2 separate regions of the Homo sapiens genome follow, and region 2 is linked to region 1. Evidence: promoter capture Hi-C in 16 types of primary human blood cells and fetal thymus (Javierre and others, 2016). All regions are on one chromosome and are shown on one strand. Each heading gives the region's core, a stretch centred on a gene start or on the middle of the fragment in contact. The rest is flanking DNA. Distances are from core to core; before and after follow the strand shown.

What was found. The method cuts DNA at HindIII sites, captures the fragments that hold promoters and counts their contacts. A CHiCAGO score of 5 or more calls a contact.
Region 2: a fragment that was not itself captured here is called in contact with the fragment with the promoter of MYOZ2 in region 1 in 3 of 17 cell types (M0 macrophages, endothelial precursors and M2 macrophages); the score reaches 6.5 in M0 macrophages.

The regions. Positions count from the first base shown.
Region 1 is chr4:119,133,730-119,138,369 of GRCh38, forward strand. MYOZ2 (myozenin 2) reads left to right here and starts at 2,103. Exons shown (of 6, transcript NM_016599.5): 1 at 2,103-2,253; 2 at 2,783-2,872. The coding sequence starts at 2,797. The HindIII fragment of the contact is 2,789 bases long and covers 994-3,782 here.
Region 2 is chr4:119,186,863-119,191,348 of GRCh38, forward strand. MYOZ2 (myozenin 2) reads left to right here. Exons shown (of 6, transcript NM_016599.5): 6 at 1-927. Among named protein-coding and RNA genes, the nearest start is that of USP53, 24 kb to the right of the region's middle. The HindIII fragment of the contact is 1,128 bases long and covers 1,972-3,099 here.

The DNA.
Region 1 (4,640 bases), core at 853-3,352:
CTAGCTGGCCTAGGCTGGTCTCAAACTCCTGGGCTCAAGCGATCCACCCACCTTGGCCTCCCAAAGTGCTGTGATTTACAACCTTAAACTTTCAATCCTATGATCAGGCACCAAAATGTATAACCGATTTCAATCTTATAAAATACAATTCCTCCCACAAATAGCCACCACCTTTGTACATTCAAGCGACTGTTCATTTGAATTCCAAACTCATGCCAAACCTTTAATGCATTCTGCAGTTAATCTCCAACCTACTCATTTATTCATTCATTCAATGAATATTGAGTGCTTACCATATGCCAGATACAATTCCAACTGCTGAAGATACAAAGCCCAAGCCATTATAGGATTCATAGTTTAGTAGAAAAAAGAGATATCACATAAATAGATGCAACCTCTACCTCCTGGACTCAAGCAATCTTCCCACCCCAGCCTTCAGAGTAGCTGGGATTACAGGTGCTAGTAAAACTGTTGAGGACGCCATTTCAACCTTTAGAATTGTACATAACATAAACTTTTGCTAGATAGATAGATAGATAGATAGATAGATAGATAGATAGATAGATAGATAGATAGAATAATGTTGGCATGTTCTTAGTGAAAAAACTGAGTTGTCACTCAGCAACAATTATTTCTTTGTTAGTAAGTTATGTATGAATTTTAATTGGGCTCATGACCACCTAGAATAGAAGCTACACTTCCCAACCTTTCTTGAGTTATGTACGGCTATATGGCTAAGTTCTGCCCAATGGGATGTAAACAGAAGTATGAACAAAATATCAGACATGTTCTGAAAAGAAGACAGTGTTCCCTTCTCATTTTTTTTTCTTTTTCCTGCTGGTTGAAATATATGCATGCTGACTGGAGCTGGGGCAGCCAATTAGGCCCAAGGGGTCTGCATTTTAGGGATAGTGGAGCAAAAAGTTAGAGGGTAACTGAGCCCTTGATAATTATGTCAGTCATGCAAACCCTCAATTACTTACTTCTAGACTAAGCTTACCTGTGAGAGAAACATCTTCCATCTTTTTACAGTTCTGTTTTGGGGGGGTTTCTGTCACTCCCATTTGACTTTTATCTTAACTAATAGAAAAATATAAAGAAAATGAAGCAGAGTAAGGGACTAGAGAGTGGCACAGTGTGATATTTTAGACAAGGTGATAAGGGAAGGATTTTATGAGGGATTGTTATCTGAGCAGAGTCCTGAATGCATGACTGTGCCATGTGAGTAGAGGGAAAGTATGGAAGGGGGAAATAGTAAAAGGAATACAGTATCTATTTTCATTTTGGAAACCAAAATTAACATAATGATTATCTGTTGAGGACACCATTTCAACCAGGGAAAGGGGGAAATAGTAAAAGGAAAGGGGGAAACAGTAAAAGGAAAAGCCCAGAGATGAGAGCACGTTTTTGTGTCCAGGGACCATCAAGGAGGCCAAACCTTTTGACAGGCAAACCTTTCAAATCTTGTCAGGCCTGCAAATGAAAATCCTTGACCCTAGACATTGTAAAGACTGGTCAACTTTGCAGGGACTGGTCTCTGTAGGCCCTTCAAAAAGCATGACCCAGTTATGAGTCTCAGCTTTTACCCAGCTTCATGGCTTATCCTCTAATGGTTCATTTCAAAATGCTTCCTGAGTTCACTATTCAAATACTACATACTTTTCTCAACCTAGCATGAGTTCTCACTACAGCTTAAGAACTGGCTCTATTGATCCACCCCACATTACTTCCTTTCTTCTTGAGTCTACATAGATATTACTGCCTATATTGTTCATTTTAATTATGAAAAATCTATCATTCTGTTCTGATTCATGCATGTGTCTCTTGCCACCTCAATTAACATGTAACATAAGAGCTAGATGTTTAAAAGTGTTTAAAATCCCTTTTGGCTACTATCTGTTCAACAGAAAGTGCTCACTAAAAACTTTCTGCATGTCCAATGAACGTTTCATTTAACCATCTCACAAACTAGAAACACAATGGAGAGAGCCTAATCTTTCCCTGTTCCTCCCTTTCGCCAGGAAGATATGAGTAGCTAAAGTATTTGGTGCTATATATAGCCAGTTGATGTCAGCTGAATGCCAGTCTCTTCAGAAAAGCTCAGTCCCCAGTTTGAGTCAGAGTAGGGACCATGCTGTCCCAGGTTCAAGGATAAAAACCATCAGGCCCAAGTGCCATCCATAGTCCATCTCCAGAGTCTTCCTCCACAAACTGGGATTCATCCCCGCTGAAAAAGCACAATCTAACAGCAAGGTGAGTATGTTGTTTCCTAAAATGTTTCATTAGTCAGTTGTCCAAGGATATTCAGAGTTGTGACTCATAAATGGGCATTCTCTGCTTTAAAGGGCAGCTGTTGCCAATATTAAAATGCTACCACCAAAGAATTCTGGTTTAGTCTAGTGTCTTCTTCATTCTTACAGTTTGCTGGAATTGATGGAGTGTGATGCTGGTACAAATGAAGGCCAGTGAGGAGACAATGACAGACTAAAATACTGTGGAGAAAAGAGAGGGAGGGGAAAGGAGACCAGCAATTTCATTGTTTCTCACTGCCTGATGATCATTGTATTAATGTCCAGACTGGGTCTCTGTTCACTGTGACATTGCCTGTCAATGAATAACATACTCTGTCACCAGATAAGGAATGCGTATTGAAGTCTTTCAGTAGCAAGCGATAATAACTTTTTAATAAAGAACAAAGATGTTGTCTTTCAAAACAGTGATTATAAGACACTCCAAATGAGTTCTTCACATTGCCTCAATAATGTCCCTTTGTTTTTAACAGGGAACAAAAAAACCATGCTATCACATAATACTATGATGAAGCAGAGAAAACAGCAAGCAACAGCCATCATGAAGGAAGTCCATGGAAATGGTATCAATAAAAATCCTTCGTAGCATTAATATAGCACAGCATGAATGTGGCTCCATCCTGACGTTGTTTAATATTCCATAGTTTACTTCCTTTAGATTCTTGCTGTTCTGTCATAACAAACCTGGAGCTCTAGGGGGTGTAGAAAAGCCTATGGTAACTAATCCTTTTGTAGTCATCCTTTCTCATTTGGAAGCTATTTTCAGAGGAACAACTGCTGTAAAAGGCATGAAGCAATCTGACAGCTGATGTACATTCTGCTTGGCTTGCCTTCCACATTATAAGTTAAGATCACTCTCGATTCTTTTTTTTTTCTGGACAAGTCTCATACAATCTTGTCTTTATTGTCCATCCCACATGGTTTAGCTTGATTTCTTTTACCTTACATTATATAAATCACTCAAAATAAGTTCTATCATCTTTTTTATCAAGCTATTAAGTTGGAATTCATATTTATTGCTTATTATTTAACTCCATTTCTATTGCTTATTTATTTAACCCTTCATATTTGTTAATTGATTTACTAACATATTTTGTGTGCAAAGTCTACTTTTATTTGTAACTTCTGAGAAAATATAAAGTTATTGTAGTCTCAAAGCATATGACTCAAAAAAATTTTAATATATATTACGTGCAAGGTAATATTTCACTCTCTCCTTTTCTTTAAATTCTAGCAACTAACTTGAGAAAGCAATGCTTTATAACTTGCATTTTGATTCTTATAAAGGAAATTCAACTTTGTTTATAAGCAACGTATAGCATCAGTTTTAAATGTTAAGAAAAATATTCAGGTCCTCTTAGGAGCTGATTTGAGCCATTCCAGATATATTAGTGGCATTTTCAGAATGCCTCCTTATTTCCCCTGTATTGACAAGGAATGCAGCCTTTCACCACTACAATATTGAGACCTAGAAGCTTGAGACCCGGGAAGAGTATTGAGCATAATGTTTTCATATTACACCTTCCATAAAGCAAGAGGAACAGAATCAAAGACTTTTAGATGCTCCCCACGCAATGTAATCATAACTAAGAGGTCCGTTGTTGTTTTCTATTTTCTGCAATACAGAACCACTGTACTGGATTCAACTTGGTTCTCATGTTTTACTGTAATGTCAAATTAGCTTGGAATAAAATGAGAATAATTCTGAGTCAGATACCAGAACTGAATTCATACCAATCCAAAGTTCCAAAATTCATGCCTTATTTAAAATTTCATGCATCTTTGTGTTTCCAGATTCAAGTAGTTTACTTGAAATTATTTTTTAGCTTTTCTGATCAATGTGGCAAAAATCAGATGATCACTGGAGTTTGTGACAAAATTGTTTACCTTAAAATAGACCTTTCATGTTATTATTTTCTAATGACATCCTAATCATAAAACAGTCAGTCCATTTAATGTATTCTAGCCTAAATCATGTGTTGGAATCTACTGTTAGCTCTGACATAGATCTATAAGGGTAAGAAGTTTTTTTTCCTTTTTTTTATAAACATAACTATTGTTTTTATAAAAAATATGTGGGAGAAAACACACAATTATATATCAAAGTGGGGGAAACCCTCAAAACCACTATCTCACCACCAGTAAATCCTAGCCACGTAAAGTCAGCTGAAGCCCTCCCTCCCATGTCACTGGATGAGTACCAGCTCCCTTAAGAGGAGTCACATGCTCTGTCTTTGTTGGAATGTCAAGTATTTCAGATAACATGGGGATAATCAGACTCTTTCCAAGCTCATCCCAGATGAAATAACTTCAGTACTTTATGAAACCGCT
Region 2 (4,486 bases), core at 1,286-3,785, 54 kb after region 1:
GTCATAGTACCATAGTTTTAAGGACCAAGGTGTGCCCAGAATTCAAGTTTCACAAATCCCAATGCTGTGCATTGATTATGTTCAACTTTATGTGTGCATTCTTAGAAGAGTAAGAACAAATAAAGTACACCGTAATATACATATAAATACATTCATGTTTGTGAGAGAAGGAAAGAGTAAGTAATTTGAATTGGCAGCTTTCTTTGCTAAATCTTTAAATTCTGTTAAGATCCTCAAGTAACTGGGGAGTACATGCTTTAGGACACAAACAAAAACAAAGGGCATGAAAGTATCTGAAAGCAATGTAGCACATATCTATCGTAATATATGTAATATATTGACATAAAAGACACAAACTAATATAAAGTTATAGTTATATCTTAAAATATAATTGAAGAAGCATATGACATATAACTTATAGAAATCAGTATCAATTCCTCCCATTTCAATTCAGTTAAGACTTCTGTGATAGATGTTTATAGCAGAGAAGAAATGTCTCATCAATAGAAAACTATCAGATAAAGTTTAGGAGATAGGAAGAAGGACTGTGTGTAGTAATGAAAATACCAAGTTGCAACATTACATGTTTACAAAAAAAAATCTGTGTTTGTAGTGTGGAAGTTGGTGACTGTTTTAATCATCATCTAGACTTGTTAAGTAGAAAAATTTTAAAAATTTGCTTATGAAAATATAACCCCCAGAAAGTAACAATGACAAAGTATTATATTTATATATATTATTGTAGAGAATTTGTATATTTTTAAAGATGTCTTAAGATATCTTAATTTTATTTATAAGTTTTGGTGTTTACCTGTTTTAAAATGATAATGTTGGCATCTGTGATAAACTATCAATGAGGCTCCCATCATGCCATTTTTTGTTCATTTTAATCTTTAAAAAATAAAAATTAGGCATATTAATTATGCATTTTGATGAAATGGTTTAATTCTTTATTAACATCATGAAATGAGTCATTATTTTTAATGAAAATGAAATCTTTTTGCATTATTTCAACCATTTCCAAATATAAACTATATGATCACTGTCCCTATTCTGCCAACCACTGAAAGTAGAGGCCAGCAATTAAGTATGTTAGCTACAGAACAGTACTCCCCAGTATCATAAAAGATAATTTAAAAAGGAAAATCCTGGCCAGGTGCGGTGGCTCCGCCTGTAATCCCAGCACTTTGGGAGGCCGAGGTGGGCGGATCACGAGGTCAGGAGATTGAGACCATCCTGGCTAGCACGGTGAAACCCTGTCTCTACTAAAAATACAAAAAAATTAGCCAGGCGTGGTGGTCGAGGCCTGTAGTTCCAGCTACTCTGGAGGCTGACGCAGGAGAATGGCATGAACCCGGGAGGCGGAGCTTGCAGTGAGCTGAGATCACGCCACAGCACTCCAGCCTGGGCGACAGAGCAAGACTCCGTCTCAAAAGAAAAAAAGGAAAATCCTAAGTGATACTTATTTTTTTAAAAAGATTAGGTAGAAAAAGAAAAAATAACCCTCTGTTCACTATTTTATTTCTTTCTTTCTGGGAAGTGTCTATTAATTCTAGCTCAGCTGACACCTTTAGAAAGGCCAGCATTTCACTCTGGTTGTTACATAATTCAGAATTCAAAAGGAATTTTGAATGGGTTTTCCATTAACCTGAAAAACAGCTAAATCTTTCAAAGTCAAAAGAAATATGATAGTCTCTTTAGAACAACAGAAAGACCGCGACATTTTTTCCACCTGCTTTTGTATAAATAAGATATGGAAAAAAGGAGAAAAAATATTTTTTAAAAAGGTAAAAGAATAAAAATTTGTTGCTGGAGTACTAAATGTCAGACACTGTAGTCATTTCCTTATAAAGGCAATTTAATATATTTAATATTGCATTTTCATAATTATTCTGTAAGGATGGCATTACAAATAATCTCAATTTTATATTGAAAAGACTGAGCCTCAGAGAACTAACGTGACTTGAAATAAGCTTAGCTCATAATTAGAAGAACTTGGTGAGTCTGGCTCTAAAGTACATGCTCTAAGAACACATGGTTCATAACTTTTCCTAAGAATAGAGTTCAGCCTTAAAGTATTTAGACAAAATAATAAAAATTCTCTGTTATTTTAATTTTGAGCAAATACATCTATTCACTGAGTAATTTTAGAGTCACTATCCAAAGTTATACAGGCATTCATAAAGAAACTGAACTTTCAGACTGTGTTGAAAGCAAACTAAATAAAACAGCAGTATGCAGATTTAACTTTGAAATTGGAGAAACACAAAAGTGCACTCTGATTAAACCTGCTCATTTCTGCTCAGTATTGTACACCTGTTTGATCTATGTAATCTTCCTTTTCTAAGGAGAAAGAGTGGGAAAGCAGGAGAAAGAGAGTTAAGAAATGCATGACATAAGGCTGAAAGAAATCATCTAGTTAATAACATACCAAAACCACTCCTTCAAAAGAAAACATTTTCTACTTTTTAAAACATTAGAGGAAATTCTCTCAGATTTCATTATACTGTTCGATAGACTTCTGGGTCATGAAATTATATCTTCTATTTTAAGCCAATTTCTTCTAATATCATTGGCAGGACTGATGATCAACTTGCCAACTGCCCCCTGGATGATAACTACAGCTACATTAATAACCAAAGCTATGGTTAGAAAGACTGTCTTTGGCTTTTAACTCTCCACTTCCTTTCATCATTTCTCAAACGTTTTATTTTTCATCTCGTAACTCAATATTTAAGAGGACTTGACAATTAAAAATAACTAATTATTGGTTATTACAAAATCAAGCCAAATATAGACAAAATTTTTAGTCAAAATGATCATTTATTGCATCTACTTTAAATTTTACATCCTATAAATAGACCCATTTATAAATATTTTAGCAGCTTGGAAGTGGAGGGAGCCAATTAATCTTGCAAAGGCTAATATGGAGCAAAATGTCCAGTCGTGAGTATGAAAAGAACACCCTGAACTTTTCAACTAAGGGCACAGCTGTACCAGCAGGCTTATTAATTCTGGAATTTCTTCACTCTGCTGCTTATGCAAGATAAAACTTACATGACATAATTGCAGTTTTTCAGCCACAACTGTCTTTTATTAAGCTTAGAAAAGTATTACTTTGTCCCTTTTCTTATGAAAAATAATTTTGCCCTCCACACTCTATTCTGTAGGAAGAAGGGCCATTCACTTTCTATGAAAGGCAGAAAAGTGCCATGCTTTTACCAAAAGACAAGCAAAGGGAATCCATTTCAAACTAACTGATCAAAGCACACTGCAAATATATAAAATAATTTTTTAAAAATTATAATGCCTTTTACAAGTTAAACTTTCCAGAACTAACAAAAAAGGAAGTAAAAGTGTATAAGAATTTTAACAGCTTAAACTAAAATGTTATTAAATAAAAGTAGGGGTTCTTATTTGAATTTCTTAAATGGAGGAGCTAGATTGCAACCCTGGATATAAATTTACCCTGACTTCTCAATGTAATGTGATTTCAGTGGGAAGATTTGGTACATAAGGGCAAAGAGAGAAAAAAAGCTATTTGAAAGAGCTTATAGTTCAGATCAAAATAAGAATGTGCTTGCCATTTTGTATTATGTAATTTTTTTTTAAGAGACAGTTTCTTATTCTGTCACTCAGGCTGGAATGGAGTGCACTGGCCCAGTTATAGCTTACCACTGCAGGCTCAAACTCCTAGGCTCAAGTGACCCTTTTGCCTCAGCCTCTTGAGTAGTTGGGACTATAGGCATGCACTACCACACTTGGCTAATTTAAAAATTTTTTTTAAAGGTAGGGTCTTGCTATGTTGCACAGCCTGGTCAAGTGATCCTCCCACCTAGGCTTCCCAAAGCGTTGGGATTACGGGCATGCACCACCAAGCCCAGCCTGCATTGTGTGATATTTTGAAAAACATTTTAATGACAACTCAGGGCAGTGGAGATGTTTCAGGAAACAGGACTGGAAAGTTAGAAGGAAAAAAATATAAAGTAAATGTCATTCCCTATTTTGAAATTGCTCATTAAAGAAGCTGCATCACTAACAAAATAAATATAAAAGAAGGGGTGTGGATAGGGGGGAAAGGAAGGCCAGAGTGAAGTAGGCTGGAAGGAAATACAATTCAGGCTGTACAAAAGCTAACTGCGTTATTTTATGGTTTCTGAAGCCTTTTATTCACTTCTTTTAAAGTAATTTTGGTCTACATAGACACAATTGTTTGATGTGGATTGTTATCTAAATAGATACTCTCATTACATTTATCATCACTCACAAATAATATATTAAAGCAATTTTATTTAAAGAGTCTAGCTTCACAGTAACAAATTTACATGCTGATTTACCACAAATCAATGAATAATCTCAAGCAATTTACTTCACTCTGTAAATCACAGTTTTCTCCAACTACTTATATGGCTCAAACATCACCTCCTCCTAAGACCTTTCCTGACCACCCTTATTTAAAAGAGCACACTTCTAATACCTTATTGGG